Linked DNA regions of Homo sapiens: all the other regions are linked to region 1. Evidence: promoter capture Hi-C in human tissues and cell types (Jung and others, 2019). All regions are on one chromosome and are shown on one strand. The core of a region is centred on a gene start or on the middle of the fragment in contact, and the rest is flanking DNA. Distances in the headings are between cores, read along the strand shown. Region 1 holds the start of ZNF76 (zinc finger protein 76). Region 2 overlaps FKBP5 (FKBP prolyl isomerase 5). Region 3 overlaps ARMC12 (armadillo repeat containing 12).

Region 1 (2,700 bases), core at 193-2,692:
GTGCCCGGTGCTTTACATATGTTATGTCAGGCACTACTATTTTCTCCCTTCGCAGAGGTGGAGACTGAAGTTAAGACAGGCTAAATAATATACCAAAAGTCCCATAGCTGAAGGGCCAGAATCAGTCTGGAACCTAGGTTTGTTATGAACTCAATGCCCCCAAATGAAGCACTCTGCTATACTGCTTTGCAAACATGTTAACTGATGGGGCCTGATCAAGGGAAATGGGTATGCACTATGAAGAGTGAAGAGGGTGATCCGGGAATGAGGGAGTAAGGTTCATGATGCAAGCAGATCCTGGGATGAGGTTACAAGAGGAAATTTCCAGGGTGGGGTACAAAAATGATTGCAAAAAATTATTATCTTGACTGAGAACTGCATAATTTCACAATTTCACAGACGGAAGGAAACTCAAAGATCATCTAACCCAACCTCATCACAGTCATGATGAGAAACTGAGGTCCAGACTGAGGAGGGGACTTCTCACAGGTCCCTAAAGCACAGCAGTGACAGAGCTGGGACCACACACTGGATTGACTGGATTCTGGATTGATCCAGAATTCTCTGATGCCTCCAATTATTACTACTTCATATTAATCTCTATATCCTCCTTAGCACCAGAAAGGTGCTGGACGCTTGTAAGTCATGTGCTGATTGACACTGAAGGGCTGGGATCGCAGAGAGAGATGCCAGTGGGGGTGATTTTAGGATAAAGGCAGACGTGGAACGAGGGTCATACGGCTACAGGATAAAGATACTGAGGGTTGTGTACAAGGTGAGTGCGTGGAAAACTATTGGAGTAGGGCTTAGGAGTCGCCAGCAGAGTTTTGAGGGGAGTCACCGAGTTTGTGGGGAACACAAGGTAGAATCGGGGGGGTTACTGGGCCAGGAGGGTTACCCAGGTTTGGGGGTCACTAAGGAGGAGTGTGGGGATCTCAGGGTCATGTGAGTCACCGGATTAAAACTGAGGGAGTCACTGGTTGGTGGGTCTCTGAGAAGTGCTGGGGAAATTCCTGGGTTAGCAGCCAATGAATAATAACCAACGGTTACCTGGTGAGGTCTTGGGGTCAGTGGGTGGGGTGTGGGGTCACAAGGGTGGAGGCGGGCGCCGTCACGGGGTGAGGTTTGGGAGTCACGGGGGAGGAGCCGCAAGGCGGAAAAGAGGGGCAGGGACCCTGGGTGGGGGAGGGGGCCCGGCCGCGGTCCAGCGGCCAGGCCGCCCTGCTAGGGCCGGAGGGAGGTGGGCACGCCGGGCTCGGGACCTTCCCGGGGTCCTGCGCCCGCCCGGCCTCCCGCCCTGGGCATGGTTGGCCCACTCCTCCCGCAGCCACCAACCTGACAGCCCCCGAGGGCGACTCCGCCGACAGACCGCCATGCACCGGGCCCCGCCACCAGCGCCGGCCCCACAACCCGCCTGCGCCATAGCCCGCCCGCCCGCGCGCAGCTTGCCTCGCGCGATATCCAGGTTCCAGGGCCGCCGCACTTTCCTTTCCTCTTGGCGCGCCTCTACCGGGCCCCGGAACCCGTATAGAAAATACCGGGCACGGTCCACCCCGCCCCCCGCTTCGCCGCGGCAGCCATCCAACTTATCCTGGTTCCGGGGCTCCTGGAGCCCAGGCGGCCGGGATCTGAACCGAGCTCTTCGGAGCCCCGCCCCCACCAAGGCCGGGGTGACGCATGGCCAGCGAGGCTGAGCGCCCAGGGAAGGCGTGCTGACGTCACGACGCCCGGGTCAGGGCCTGGGCGCGGCTCGGAGCCGGGTCGTCGCTATAGCAATCGGGAACCGCTACCTGTCCATTCCAAGGATTCGGTCCAGCAGAAGCGTGAGGAGGTGGCGGAGGCCCCGAGGGCTTTGCGTCATCACTTCTGCGGCCTGCGGGCGAGAAGGTGCGCTTCGGGAGTAGCGCGGGAGGACAGGAGGCGCAGGTTGTGAGGGACGCAGGCCCTGGGGCTTCGGTCTCTGTCCTCCGAGCTCAGAGCCTCCAGGCTTCTTCCCGGCCGCGCGCTCAGCACTCACTGTCTTACGGTCCCGAAGCGCTTTAAGGTGCGCAGTCCGCAGGCCTTGCCTACTGATCTTCCAGCCACCCCTTGAAGGAAGCAGTTGCAGGTATTAAGAGCTCCTTATTGAAAAGGACGATGTAGAGGGGCGGTGAGGGACTCGCCTCCGCAGGGAGGGCGCCCTGGCGGTCTTCTCAGGTTCTCTCTCATTCCCGCGTCAGCTCCACCGTCAGGCTCGAAACCGACTACTCCCTTTTGTAGGCTTGCTTTGGGTTGAACATAAAAACCAAGCCCCTTTACTATTTCCCTGCTGGGAGGGGCTGCGATTGGGAAATTTTCAGAAACCTGAGGGAAAATTAAAAGGGAGCGAGCTTTCGGTAAAAAATCAAATTAAAAAGGAGGGGCGTTAGAGAAGGAACTGGTAAAGATTGCCTTTTAGGAGAGGAACTGGGTGGCTGGAAGAATGAGGTGAGAAACTTTCCCCTCTCTATCCTTTCAGACTTTAACTGGTTTCTTTTGTATCTTCCCCGCCCCGAAAACAATTTAACTTAATAAGAATAATTTTTAAAGGACGTAAACTAGACACAGTTACAAAGTACGGGGTTTGGGGCTTGTGGTAGCTAAAGGTGTCTTTGGGGATGCGGGCATCCTTTTCCTCTCCTGCCTGAAGAGCTTAACTAGAAAGCCCCCCTTTCGGTCTTA
Region 2 (2,700 bases), core at 170-2,669, 330 kb before region 1:
TATGACAACATAATGTTATAGGAACCAGTTTATATACATTACATTTTAGCCTGGCTGACAAGGCAATTGTGGGGACAGATGTCTCAAGTTTAGTGACAAAGAAAAATAGAAATTGTCTTTAAATTTTTTAACGCAAACAGTTCTTTACAGATTTAAACTGTTTGTTGTATCATTAGTGGTTACACTTTGCTCTGTGCGCTTGGCCAAGGCACTTAACCCTCCTAAGCTTCAGTTTCCCCTCTGTAAATGGGGATGACAGTATCCATCTCATAAAGTTATGGAGAGCTAAATAAAATCCTGCACATATAGGGCACACATGAGCCCGCAGTGTGTGAGCTTTTGTTGCTATTGTGACGGCTCACCTTCTCTTCCATTTTACCCTCGGACCACAAGAAAAAGGAAATCCTGTTTAACATGAGATCAATCTTTCAGATCTTTTCAGGCATAAAAGTTGTCAATAGGTTTTCATAAATTTCTAGGTATAAAAGTTTATGAGTTTTATGGAAATAATTTAGCATATTTAGAAAGGAACATTATTTTTGTTCAAGGTGTTGGTATGTTGGAGAATTATGTGAAGTGCATTCTCTGTAATATGAGACTGCTGCATATGCATTGCGTAGTACTACATATATATGTAGAAAACCCCTACATGCTATATATGTGTGTGCGTATGCATACTGTGTGTATAGAAAACCCCCTACATGCTATATATGTGTGTGTGTATGCATGCTGTGTGTGTGTATAGAAAACCCCTACATGCTAAGCATGTTTTCAGTGCAGGCAGTGAATTTACTTGTTTTATTCAGCTTCCCACTTTCATAAAACATTGCATCTAAATGTTGCTATAAGTATGGCTGTTGCAGAAAATATCTGCAAATAGCTCTTAGTGTCATCTGTATTTCATTCTCCAGAAAATTTCCAAGGCAGACCTTCTCTGTGACTCTGATACTCTGATAGACTCTCGGGAAGAATGTTTTCTTTCTGTCCCTCCCCCACCCCCCGAGACAGGGTCTCACTTTCACCTAGGCTGGAGTAGGGTGGCATAATCTGTAGCCTCGAACTCCTGGGCTCAAGGGATCCTCCCACCTCAAGCTCCTGGGTAGCTGGGACTACAGGTGTGCTCCATCCTGCCTGGCTGATTTTTTTCATTTTGTAGAAACAGGGTCTTACTATGTTGTCCAGGCTGGTCTCAAACTCTTGGGCTCAAGCAGTCCTCCAGCCTCAGCCTCCCAAAGTGCTTGGGATTACAGGTGTGAGCCACCACACCTGGCCTAGAATGTCTTCATAATAAGAAAGTCATAAAACATTTCCAGACAATCCATTTTTCTTTCTCCTCATTGGGACAATATCTTCCCTTTGTATTGTTTTAAATACTGAGACTAATAAATCTTTTTTGTTTTAGGTCAAGTGTATATAGTTTTAACTTTTTTTTCCGTCCTTTCCTTATGTTTCTGTCACGCATGAACCCCAAACAAAAACACAGGCTATTGGTCAGGCAAGGTGGCTCACACCTGTAATCCCAGCACTTTGGGAGGCCGAGGCGGGAGGATCACTTGAGGTCAGGAGTTCGCGACCAGCCTGGCCAACATGGTGAAACCCCGTCTCTACTAAAAATATAAAAATTAGCTGGGCGTGGTGGTGCATGCCTGTAATTCCGGCTACTCGGGAGGCTGAGGCAGGAGAATCGCTTGAACCCAGGAGGCGGAGGTTGCAGTGAGCTGAGATCATGCCACTGCACGATGCCTGGGGTGACAGAGTGAAACTCTTGTCTCAAAAATAAAAATAAAAAAACAGACTACCAAGAGCCATAATGTCTAGTTATGAGGCAGTATGAGTCCAAAAAACCTGATTTTCTGGGGACACACAGGGTCTGAATTTAAACCTGGCTCTACCACTGCCTGTGTGTGACTTCTCAGGAAGCACTCTGTGTCTTTATCTGCAAAAAGGGAGCAATTGGTAAGAGCTTGTAGTCCAAGTGCTTCTTATATGCACATTAAGGCTTAATGGTCATTCATAGTCATTATTTGTATCTCTATTCTCTGGAGGAAACTCTTAATTCAAGGGCATTAACGCTGAATTCCTTCTGTTACCATAGTCTAGATTATCTTTTGGTTAGGTCTTGGGATTCCTCTTGTGGTGTTTTGTTTTTCAGTCAGATGAGTTGGGTGCCCTGGTTCCTTCTTCACCCAGGCTGACAACTTTCTGTGTAATATGGAAGTCAGGGTAGGTGCTGCCAGAATATCTTGGCGTGGGCTTCCACCTCTGCAGGATCATGTGCGCCACACGTATCTTGACTGAATCGCTTCATTTTAACCTGGGAGAGATTGTAGAAATAATATTTTTCTTTAGTCTTCTTTAATCCCATCAATAATAGGACACTTGGTGCCTCCCTTGATACAGCCCCACATTCCCCACAGGCAGATTTTCTCATCCTCAGCACTGTTGACACTTTGGGCTTGCTAATCCTTGGTCATAGGGGGCTGTCACGTGCATTGTAGAATATCCAGCAGTATTCCTGGCCTCTTCCCACCAGATACCAGTAGCACCCCCATAGTTGTGACAACCCATAATATTTCTAGACATTGCCAAAGGTTTCCTGGAGGGAAGAGGAGTTAAAATCAACCTGGTTGAGATCTGCTGGTCTAAGGCAAATGCCAGATCATTTGTTGCATTTGCAACTGCTTAGCACAGGACTCCAAA
Region 3 (2,700 bases), core at 2-2,501, 480 kb before region 1:
CTTGAACCCGGGAGGCGGAGGTTGCGGTGAGCTGAGATCGCGCCATTGCACTCCAGCCTTGGCAACAAGAGCGAAACTCCGTCTCAAAAAAAAAAAAAAAAAGTAAGATGCTTGGACCTAGAGGCATTACCAAAGACAGGTAACCTCACGAGCTGCACCTTTATGAGCCATGTAAGAAGTAAGCAAGAGTCCTGGAGTGGAAGTGAGCATTCCCATCAGTACCTGCCCTTCCCTTCCCCCACCCCTCAAAAGCCGTGGCGACCCGCAGGACAGGTTGGAGTCAGCAAGTCTGGGACAGGGTTTCAGAACGAGGGAACAGCAGCAAGGGGGCATGTGAGAGCATAAAGCATGCATTGTACGTGGCTGGGGTTAGGGCAAGGAGGTGCAGCCCATGGCCAATCACGCACTTTATGCTGAGAGCCTTGAGGCAGACCCAAAGGGCCTGATGGCCTAAGAGCCCTCTGGAGAGAGTGGGCTGATTCAGGGAATGGGGTGAGCTCCATTTTGGATATGTTGGGTTAGAGAACTTGGAGGGCATCTAAGTGGATATGCCTAGTAGCAGCTGCCCATGGGGAAGGCAGGGGAGCCCACAGGCTGCAGAGATCCAGAAGGGCACAGCTAGATGGAAATTGAGATCAAGGAGTAACTACTTTCACCTGAAAAGAGACCAGGGGTCAGGCCCTCAGCATAAAGACACTGGGGAAAAAAAGGAAGAGTGGGACTCAGGCCGCCTGCATCAGAATTTCCTGGGGGATTTGTGAAAAACAAAGTTCTCCTGTTGAACTGAACTCCCTGGGCTTTTTTTTTTTTTTTTTTTTTTTTGAGACAGAGTCTCGTTCTGTGGCCCAGGCTGGAGTGCAGTGGCGTGATCTTGGCTCACTGCAAGCCTCTGCCTCCCGGGTTCAAGTGATTCTCCTGCCTCAGCCTCCCGGATAGCTGGGATTACAGGTGCCCGCCACCACGTCCGGCTAATTTTTGTATTTTTAGTAGAGACGGGGTTTCTCCATGTTGGCTAGGCTGGTCTCGAACTGACCTCAGGTGATCTGCCCACCTCAGCCTCCCAAAGTGCTGGGATTACAGGCTTGAACCACTGCGCCCAGCCAAAATCTTTGCTTTTAACAAGCTCTCCAGGTGATTATAATATGCTTGAGAATCACAGCCTGACCAGGTGTGGTGACTGACACCTGCAATCCCAGCACTTTGGGAGGCTGAGGCAGGTGGATCACTTGAGCTCAGGAGTTCGAGACCAGCCTGAACAACATGGCAAAACCCCACCTCTAAAAAAATACAAAAATTAGCCGGGCATATTGGTGCATGCCTGTAATCCTAGCTACTAGGGAGGTTGAGGTGGGAGGATCACTTGAGTCCTGGAGGTGGAGGTTGCAGTAAGCCAAGATCGTACCACTGCACTTGAGAAGGCTGAGGGATGAGGCAGCAAGCAGAGATCTCTCTAGGTATTTTTTTCTGTTTGTTTCTCAATCTATTTTTATTCTTTTGTGTGTTTGCTTTTATTGATATATCATAGTTGTGCATATTTTGAGGATACATGTAAAGAGAATTTTTTCCCCAAAAAAGTTTGATGCCAAAAATTAAAATGTGGACCACGCATGGTGGCTCATGTCTGTAATCCCAGCAGTTTGGGAGGCCGAGGCAGGCAGATCACTTGAGGCCAGGAGTTTGAGACCAGCCTGGCCAACATGGTGAAACCCTGTCTTTACTAAAATACAAAAAAATTAGCCAGGCATGGTGGTGCGCGCACGCCTGTGATTCCAGCTACTCTGGAAGCTGAGGCACAAGAATTGCTTGAACCTGGGAGGCAGAGGTTGTAGTGAGCCGAGATCGTGCCACTGCACTCCAGCCTGGGCAACAGAGCAAGACTCTGTCTCAAAAAAAAAAAAAATTAAAATGTGAAATTATCAAACGTTAGGTTATGACACAATAGAACACTCGTGCAGGGCTGGTGGGGTGAAAATGGATACCTCCCTCCTGGAAAAGTTGGGCATACCCTTTGACCAAACCATTCCACTCCTGCATACACACCCTAGAATCCTCTCTCAGGCACACAAGGGAGACGAACACAGGAATGTTCACAGCACAATGTGAGTGTGACAAGCACCTGGAAACAATGCAAATGCCTAACAACGGGCAAGTGGCAGAGTATTCACGAAAGAGACCACCACAGAGCGGTGAAAGAGACCCAGGGGGGAGAATTGCTTGAGCCCAGGAGTTCAAGGCCAGCCTGAGAAACATAGTACTCCCGTACTCACTGAGCACACCCGTACTCCCAGCTACTAGGGGAGCTGAGGTGGGAGGACTGCTTGAGCCTGAGAAGTCAAGGCTGCAGTGAGCCAAGATCACGCCACTGCACTCCAGCCTGGGCGACAGAACGAGACCCTGTCTCAAAAAAAAAAAAAAAAAAAACCAGAAGGAAGCAGAGCTGCCCAATAAGGATGAATCTCTCCACGTAGCAGGGAGAAAAGGCCAACCACAGAATAGAAACCATCTACTTCCATGTACATGAAGCTTAAAAACATACCAGACTATATTTTACCTCTTTATTATCTGCTATGCCCTGCTAGAATATGCAAGGATACATACATATATGGTAAAACTACAAAGAAAATTTGGAACTGCTAAACAAAATGCAGGGTAATGACTGCCTCTGGTGGGGGAGGCAGCCAAGATGTGGGAGGGGGCTGT

Evidence for each region. The method cuts DNA at HindIII sites, captures the fragments that hold promoters and counts their contacts. A contact is called where the count stands out against the background at its distance.
Region 2: a contact is called between a fragment that was not itself captured here and the fragment with the promoter of ZNF76 in region 1, in 1 of the 25 tissues and cell types used here (neural progenitor cells).
Region 3: a fragment that was not itself captured here is called in contact with the fragment with the promoter of ZNF76 in region 1 in 1 of the 25 tissues and cell types used here (spleen).

What each region holds. Positions count from the first base shown.
Region 1 is chr6:35,258,477-35,261,176 of GRCh38, reverse strand. It overlaps ZNF76 (zinc finger protein 76), which reads right to left and starts at 1,442. Exons shown (of 14, transcript NM_003427.5): 1 at 1,336-1,442. It overlaps SCUBE3-AS1 (SCUBE3 antisense RNA 1), which reads left to right and starts at 1,722. Exons shown (of 4, transcript XR_001744102.2): 1 at 1,722-1,887. RefSeq lists silencers at 1,010-1,329, 1,340-1,459. The HindIII fragment of the contact is 24,264 bases long and covers 1-2,700 here.
Region 2 is chr6:35,592,644-35,595,343 of GRCh38, reverse strand. All of the region lies in intron 6 of FKBP5 (FKBP prolyl isomerase 5), which reads left to right. Among named protein-coding and RNA genes, the nearest start is that of LINC03135, 50 kb to the right of the region's middle. The HindIII fragment of the contact is 3,978 bases long and covers 1-2,700 here.
Region 3 is chr6:35,740,619-35,743,318 of GRCh38, reverse strand. All of the region lies in intron 3 of ARMC12 (armadillo repeat containing 12), which reads right to left. Among named protein-coding and RNA genes, the nearest start is that of ARMC12, 4.9 kb to the right of the region's middle. The HindIII fragment of the contact is 4,861 bases long and covers 1-2,700 here.